Regions from separate parts of the Homo sapiens genome. Here region 2 is linked to region 1. The links are contacts of gene promoters, found by promoter capture Hi-C in human tissues and cell types (Jung and others, 2019). All regions are on one chromosome and are shown on one strand. Each heading gives the region's core, a stretch centred on a gene start or on the middle of the fragment in contact. The rest is flanking DNA. Distances are from core to core; before and after follow the strand shown.

Evidence for each region. The method cuts DNA at HindIII sites, captures the fragments that hold promoters and counts their contacts. A contact is called where the count stands out against the background at its distance.
Region 2: a contact is called between a fragment that was not itself captured here and the fragment with the promoter of TRH in region 1, in 2 of the 25 tissues and cell types used here (H1 embryonic stem cells and thymus).

What each region holds. Positions count from the first base shown.
Region 1 is chr3:129,972,584-129,976,569 of GRCh38, reverse strand. It overlaps TRH (thyrotropin releasing hormone), which reads right to left and starts at 1,850. Exons shown (of 3, transcript NM_007117.5): 1 at 1,747-1,850; 2 at 543-761. The coding sequence starts at 753. It also overlaps the pseudogene LOC124906284. The HindIII fragment of the contact is 6,189 bases long and covers 816-3,986 here.
Region 2 is chr3:130,100,787-130,104,702 of GRCh38, reverse strand. It overlaps the pseudogene FAM86HP. Among named protein-coding and RNA genes, the nearest start is that of LINC02014, 8.4 kb to the right of the region's middle. The HindIII fragment of the contact is 7,534 bases long and covers 1-3,916 here.

The DNA of each region.
Region 1 (3,986 bases), core at 601-3,100:
ACCTGCCCCTCAGGCCTCACAGATACACACATTCACACAATAGTCAAAGGCATTGCCTCTGGGTTCCAATCCCAGCTCTGGCGCTCCCTAGTTGTCTGACCATAAGCGACTCAATTGATCTCTGGGAGCCTCAGTTTTCTTCTGTGTAAAATCGTAATAACAGTACCTAACTAAGAGGTTGTTAGGAAGATCAAACAGTGTGATAAGGTGTTTGAAGTGCTTGGAATAGTGTCTGGCACAGAAGTGCCTAGACAGTAGTAATTCAAACTGTCACACACAAAGAAACTCTCTCCCTAGCACACAGAAGCTTCCCCACCCAGGGCCTGCTCTCTGTGAAATATTCCCAGCATTGAGACAGGGGAGGAATCTGACCCCGAGGAATGGTCAACTCCAGATCCCGCCTAGGCGCAGCCAGGGAGGGTTTCTGAGCTTCCGAAAGGCAGAAGGCTAGCTGACCAAGCCTCCCCTCCCCTTTGCCGGCAGGTTTCCACGGCTCTCCCAATAGCCTAGCCCCACAGCCCCCAACAGCCCCATCCACTCACCGGAGTGCTCACCCTGGTCCCCTTGCAGCCGCTGGATGTTTTCCCGGAGGAAGAGGAGGCGCTCCACCTGGCGCAGGAAGTCATCCAGGCCCGGATGCTCCGCGGCCGTCACTGCCTCCTGCTGGGCCGCCTCTGGCTGAGCACGGCCGCCGGGGACACCGGTCAGGTTCAGGGTCAAAGCCAGAGCGAGCAGCAACCAAGGGCCGGGCATCGCGGCGTCTGGGTTAGGGGACAGAGGGAGCCTGAGCGCACCGAATCACAGCACATCCCGCTCCATCTCCCCCGACGCCCGCCAGAAACAAACCACGCACAGTTCAACCGCCCTCCCAGAAGCAGGACCACTGCCCCTCGTGCAGGGGCGGGAGCAGCGGCGGGTTCGCCCCGGCTCTGCGTCCACACCTGTCACCTCTAGGCGTCCTCGCCCCCACGGGTGCCTGTAGTGCCTGCGCCCAGTTCTGCTTGCGCAAGGCAGGAGGCCGTAGGAACCCCATCGCCAGCGCCACCGCCACCCTTCAATGTGACGCGGAACTGGGGAAGCCAACGCTGGGACTGCCTCGCCGGGAGTGCAACCATTGAGATTGCAGCGCCAGGCACAGCCGCGACGCTAACGGTTGCGTCCCCGCCAAGACTCCCCCAAAGGTCCCCATCGCCACGTTCTAACTCCAAGCTCCGTGGCCGACGTCCTCATTCCAACGCGAAGATCCCATTTCTATCGCTAAGATTCAGGTTCTAAAGCTCAAAGTCTATTTGCAAAGCTAAGATTCTATTTCTAATGCTAAGCTTTCATGACTAAGCCAGGAATCTGATTCTAACGCTAAAATCCTAACTTCAACGCTAAAATTCTATTTCTAGCGTTGAGATTGGGATTCGAACTCCCAGGTTCTCAGGCCGACGCCCTGAATACCCAGCTCTGTCCGGCGGCACCCAGGCAGGGGGTGCCGCGGAGCTCCCACCCCGCGCTGCGGACTCTGGCGACCTGAGTGCCCAGCAGCGAGAGCCTCCGATGTGCCCGCGCCGTGCCTCCCGTCGGGTCCCCGGCCTGCGCTCGGGGAGGACCCGGGGGTGCGAGCACAGCGCCCGCCTGTGCACCGGCCCTGTTCTCCAGGAAGCTCTCAGAGAACCGAAGGTGAGGGCGGGCCGAGAGGGCTCCCTTTCCAGTGCTCCCGGACACCGTCTGCGGAAGGAGAGGGGTTGGGGCGGTTACCTGCCAGGAGTGGGCTCCACAGGATGGGTCCGGGATCCGGGGACTCGGGATCCGCAGTCGGCAGGTCAGGAGTCTGCAGCGCTGAGGACCCCGGGCGCCTGCCGAGCCCTCTTCAGATGGGCCGCCGCTTATATCTGCGCCAGGCGGCGGCTCGAGTGAGGTCAGCGGGGAGGGGTCGCGGCCGCCGGGAAGGGGCGCTGACGGCAGCCGGCCCCGCGGGACCCCGCCCGCCTGCTCCTCCGGAAATCTGGGGCGGGGACGGTGGGGACCGGAGCCGGGGCGCGGAGGCACTGGCCGCAGGATGGGGCGCCGGCGCGGGGTCGTTTCTGCACCACCTCTGGAGATCTGTTGACGAGAACACGCGTGTAGGGGGCAAAGGGAGGGACAGAGAGATTGAGAGAAGCGCACGATTAAACACAGGCGCACGAGAGAGCTAGAGGGCGAGACAAAGACCGAGATCCACACGGAGACGACGGAGAAACACAGGGCAGACACACACGAAAGGGACACGGCCGCAGAACCAATGTAGAACGCAGACGGGCGAGAGTAGAGCAAGAGAGAGAGAGAGAGAAAGAGAGAGAGAGAGAGAATGGGGGGCAAGTGGGAGCGGAGCTCTACTTTTTTTTTTTTTTTTTTTAAAGAGATGGGATCTCGCTTTGTCCCCCAGACTGGAGTGCGGTGGCGCGATCACGGCTCACTGCAGCCTTGAACTCCTGGGCTCAAGTCATCCTCCTGCCTCAGACTCCTGCGTCTCTGGGATTACAGGCGTGAGCCACCCCGCAGGCTCCAGGGTGCTAATCTTAACTGTGTCATTCCTGGCTAGTGCCTCCGTTTCTCTGGGCCTCAGTTTTCTCCTCTGTGTAATAGGAGCCAGAGGAAAGCTTTCAGAATTCCAAAAGTGGCGGCCTGTAGGCTACAACCAGTTCATGGACAATTTTGATTGACTTCCACAGTGTTTTGAAAAAAATCTGAATAACCAACATTTTAAAACCAAGATAACTTAGAAAATTTTGGATTTATGGCTTCTCTTGAAAAAGAATGGGCCCCCATTTCCTCCTGTCAACAGCCAGGTGGAGCTGAGCCTGGCTGCTCTCGGCCACCACAGTCTCCACCACTCCCTAATGTCTTCCAATGTGTTGCCCCTGTCACTGAGGAGGGACATTCGAGTCTGCAGCCCCTGCACAGGAATCTATTGGAGTTCACCCAACTCTAGCAAAGGAGGGGAGGGGAAGCAGGGAGGAGAAACACATGGGTGCCAAGGAGCTTGCCCCCCGAGTCAGTTCCCAAAGTCCCAGATGTGGGACTGCCACATCTAGCCCTGGGGACTGCCTCCATCTTGAAACTTTTTTTTTAAAACAGGGTCTCATTCTGTCACCCAGGCTGGAGTGCAGTGGTGCAATCTGACCTCACTGTAGCCTTGACCTCCCCAGTTCAAGGGATCCTCCCACCTCAGCCTCCGAAGTAGCTGGGACTACAGCCAGGCACCATAATTTTTATGGCTATTTTTTATTATTATTTCTTGTAGAGATGGAGTCTTCTTATGCTGCCCAGGCTGGTCTCGAACTCCTAGACTCTAGCAATCCTCCTCCTTGGCCTCCCAAAGTCCTGGGATTACAGGCATGAGCCGCCACACCCGGCCCATCTCTAAACATTTAACAAGCACCCACTATGGTGTCAGACTCCTTGGTAGGTCCTGAAGGCCTAGAAGTGAATGAGGCTCAGCCCCAGCCCTCAAAAAGTTCAGAGGCAGTGAGGGAGACACTGCAAACATGAAACCTCAGGCTTGGTCTCCCAACTAGACTCCAGGATTTGAAGAAATGCCACCCTAGCTAAGATGAAATCAGATAGACCTGTTGTCTTTTGTACACAATGACGAGGGTATAAATTGATCCAATCTTTTGGGTGGCAATCTGAAAATTTAACACATATGTACCTTCCATGAGACAATTCTGTTTTTCAGAATTCATAATACAGATACTCCCACCTATATACATGAGAATGTATACCTCAGGGTATTCAGTGCAGCATGGTTTATACAAGCCAGAATTGGAACCAGCCTGGATGTCTGTCCATCAGGAGGGGGACACTTAAGTCAACTAAGACCCATCTAAAACTGTGGGGTACTATGCAGCCTTTAAAAGAATAAGGCAGTTCCATATGCACTCATGTGGAATAAGCTCCCAGAAGCAGAGTAGAGAACTATGTGTATATGATGCTGCCATTTGTGGAGTGTGAGGAAG
Region 2 (3,916 bases), core at 938-3,437, 130 kb before region 1:
TCCAGCCTGGGTGACAGAGCTCAAAAAAAAATAAGATAAAGCATAGATACAGAAAACCACAAAGGAAAAACATAGCATATTGAATCATCACAAGGCAGCCACCCCTTCATAGCCACACCTGGCCCCTGGCCACCACTGACCTGTGCTCCATCGCCAGAATTCCGTTGTCTCAGGAATGTTCGATGAATGGAATCCTGTGTGGCCTGAGATGAGTGTCTTTCATGCCGCGTGACACCCTTGAGGCCCGTGCAAGCTGTTGGTATGTCAACAGTTAGCTGCTTCTCATTGCTGAGTGGCGATTGGTCCTGTCATGGTTTATTCAGCCATGTGGCGGATGGCTACTTGTCTTCTAAGCCACTTGTTTTCTGATTGCTGGACTTACTGTCTCACCCTCTCTTGGTACAGCCCTCGGAAGGCTCGGTCACACTCTCCGAGCACAGCCATCATCTCCCACGGTACCACAGGCCTGGTCACATGGGACGCTGCCCGCTACCTTGCAGAATGGGCCATCAAGAACCTGGCAGCCTTCACTAACAGGTGACCTCGGGGCACAGGGCAGCCGCCATCTACCTTGCAGAATGGGTCATTGAGAACCTGGCAGCCTTCACTAACAGGTGACCTCGGGGCACAGGGCAGGGCACCGAGGCAGGCTTACCCTGGTGCAGTCGAAGACACGGTCCCCTTTCCTCCCGCCAGGACTGTCCTAGAGCTTGGCAGTGGCGCCGGCCTTACAGGCCTGTCCATCTGCAAGATGTGCCACCCCCGGACATACATCTTCAGCGACTGTCACAGCCGGGTCCTCGAGCAGCTCCGAGGGAATGTCCTTCTCAATGGCCTCTCATTAGAGGCAGACATCACTGCCAACTTAGATAGCCCCAGGGTGACAGTGGCCCAGCTGGACTGGGATGTAGCGACGGTCCATCAGCTCTCTGCCTTCCAGCCAGATGTTGTCATTACAGCAGGTAATGCCCAGCCCCGGGCATCCTGTGCAGGCGGTGTCCTTGCAGCTCTACCCAGCTCTTGGCTCTGGGAAAAGGGAACAGTGGATGCTGTCGGGCATGGACATGATGGGGCTTCCAGAAGAGTTACTCCGGGCCTCCAGGGGGACATCAAAGGACAGGGGTGCCTCTTAAGGTGACCTTCAAGCCACAGCCCTCTTGTTGGAGACAGGCATACTCCCGTTACAGTCGTCACCACACGGCTCTGTTCCAGAGCCATGCCCTGTGTCCTTCAGAGACCACAGGAGGAAAACAACCACTTCTGGGATGAGGACAGGGCCCTTGGGAGAAGGTGGTGTTTGGCTGGGCCACCAAAAACCCCTCACCCCTGCCAGCACACTCAGTCCCCTCTCTGGTGGAACAGAGCTCTGCCTGTGGTCCTGGGTCCCAGCCCTGAAACCCACAGGTCCAGCGGTGGCCAGGGACAGAGGCCCACCCCTGCAAGCCAGCAGACCAATCGGCAGACACCTGAAACACGAAGTTCACGGTAGGGTCAGGCTTTCTGCCATTCAAAGCCCTCTAGATAGGCCCAGAACCAGAGCTGGTTTTTTAAGGAACACCAGTGAGTCTGGAGATTTTTTTCTTTTGCTTCGGTCTTTTGCAGCTTTCTCTACTAAGGGTTCTCCTTTTTCACCCAAGTAATTGCCCTTCCATCTAATGGCCCAAATGGTCAAATGGCATCTAATAGTCTCATATGAACGCTGCCTCTCTGGCCTCACCCTGCTGCTGAGGTCAGCATGAACTGGAACTTTCCACTTGTCCCTTTCAGTAACCTGAAGCTTTCACCGTAGACGTGCTGTATTGCCCAGAAGCCATCGTGTCCCTGGTCGGGGTCCTGCGGAGGCTGGCTGCCTGCTGGGAGCACCAGCGGGCTCCTGAGGTCTACATGGCCTTTACCGTCCGCAACCCAGAGACGTGCCAGGTGTTCACCACCGAGCTAGGTGAGCCCCCACGCCCACCCGGGCCTGCATGGTCCCCGAGCTGTCCCTGCAGGACTCCAGTGGAAGTGAAAGAACTGGGTGCCAGCAAAAAGCTAGGATGCCCCACACTCCCACACCATGCGGGGAACTCGGGCAGAGGCCGGTGAGCAGGGTGGGCTTGGGGCGTGGGGGGCTTGCGGCAGGAGGAGGGCAGCTCAGCACAGGGCGGGAGGGTCTGAGCCCAGCAGCCCTACTATGTGCCTCAGAGCAGGTTTCCCTAAGCCCTTGGGCCTCGGTTTCCTCATCTATAAAATGGAGGTGGTGGGAGGGGCAGTCGGGGTCAGGGCTGGACACAGCTGTGGCCTGCAGGATGCTGGAGCACAGGCTGTACAGGCGGATCCACCACGCCACTGTCCTGAGCACCCAGTTGATGGAAGACGAGCAGGGTGACTATAGAGAAGGGCAACTGGCCCCGTAGTGGGCCAGCCACTGTCCTGAGACCTGACATTGGTCAGCCCCCAGCACCTGTGAGGGTGTTCTGTCATTGTCCCATCTCACCGACAAAAACACTAGGACACACAGAGGCCAAGAGACCCCCGAGCTCCCGCAGACTGCAGCCCGGCCACCTGGCTCTAGTGCCTCCACACTACACCCAAGCCCCCCATTGCCACCAGACTCTGCCCCAGCTCCCCCTGAGCACAGCCCCTCCTGGCAGCCATGTGCAAAGATGCACCCGCAGCAGCCTCTGCCTGCACACAGAGACATGGACGACCCAGTGCCTGTCCACGTGGGGCAGCCCGTTAACTACAGAGCCAACAAACAAGCCAGCACGCGAAGACATACTGGGTTCCATGACAGAGTCCCGCACAACCTCGCACAGGAGGCTGGCCAGGCGTGGGGCTCAGGCCTGTCATCTCAGCACTTTAGGAGGCTAAGGCAGGAGGACTACTTGACCCCAGGTGTTCAAGACCAACCTGGGCCACATAGTGGGACCCCATCTTCACAAAACATACAGAAACTAGCCAGATGTGGTTGGACATGCCTGTAGTCCCAGCTACTCGGGAAGCTGAGGTGGGAGGATGGCTTGAGCCCACGAGGTGGAGGCTGCAGTGAGCCCTGATCTCACCACTGCACTCCAGCGTGGGCAACAAAGCAAGACCCTGTCTCAAAAAAGCAAAAAAGCAAAAAAAAAAAAAAAAAAGGAAGTCTTTCTTCAGATACTTACGTGAAAAAAAACCTGCAATATCTTTTAAGTGAAAAAAAAACAGTGCCAAGCAGTACATATAGTATAAGCCCCCACCAACCTTTTTTTTTTTTTTTTTTTTTTTTTTTGAGACAGAGTCTGGCTTTGTATTGCCCAGGCTGGAGTGCAGTGGTGCCATCTCGGCCCACTGCATCCTCCCACCTCCCAGGTTCAAGCTATCCTCCCATCTCAGCCTCCTGAGTAGCTGGGACTACAGGTGCGTGCTACCACGCCTGGCTAATTTTTGTATTTTTTGTAGATTCGAGGTTTCTCCATGTTGGCCAGGCTGATCTTGAACTCCTGACCTCAAGTGATCTGCTGCCTCAGCCTCCCAAAGTGTTAGGAATACGGGCGTGAGCTACTGCGCCCAGCCCCATTTTTGTTTAAAAACTAATAATAATCACCCACACGTGGTTATGAGTACCTATATTCCAACTACTCAGGAGGCTGAGGCGGGAGGATGGCTTAAGCCCAGGACTTTGTGGCCACCTTGAGCAACATAGCAAGACTTCATCTCAAAAAAAAATGTATCAAAATAATCATTTTCACATAGGTATACCTATAGGGGAAAACCTAGAACATGTATATAGCAGGTTTGTCCAACCTGTGGCCCAACACAAATCTGTAAACTTTCTTAAAACAATATGAGGTTTTTTTGTGATTTTTTTTTCTTTTAGCTCATCAGCTATTGCTAGCTTTAGTGTATTTTATGTGTGGCCCAAGGCGATTCTTCTTCTTCCAATGTAGCGCAGGTA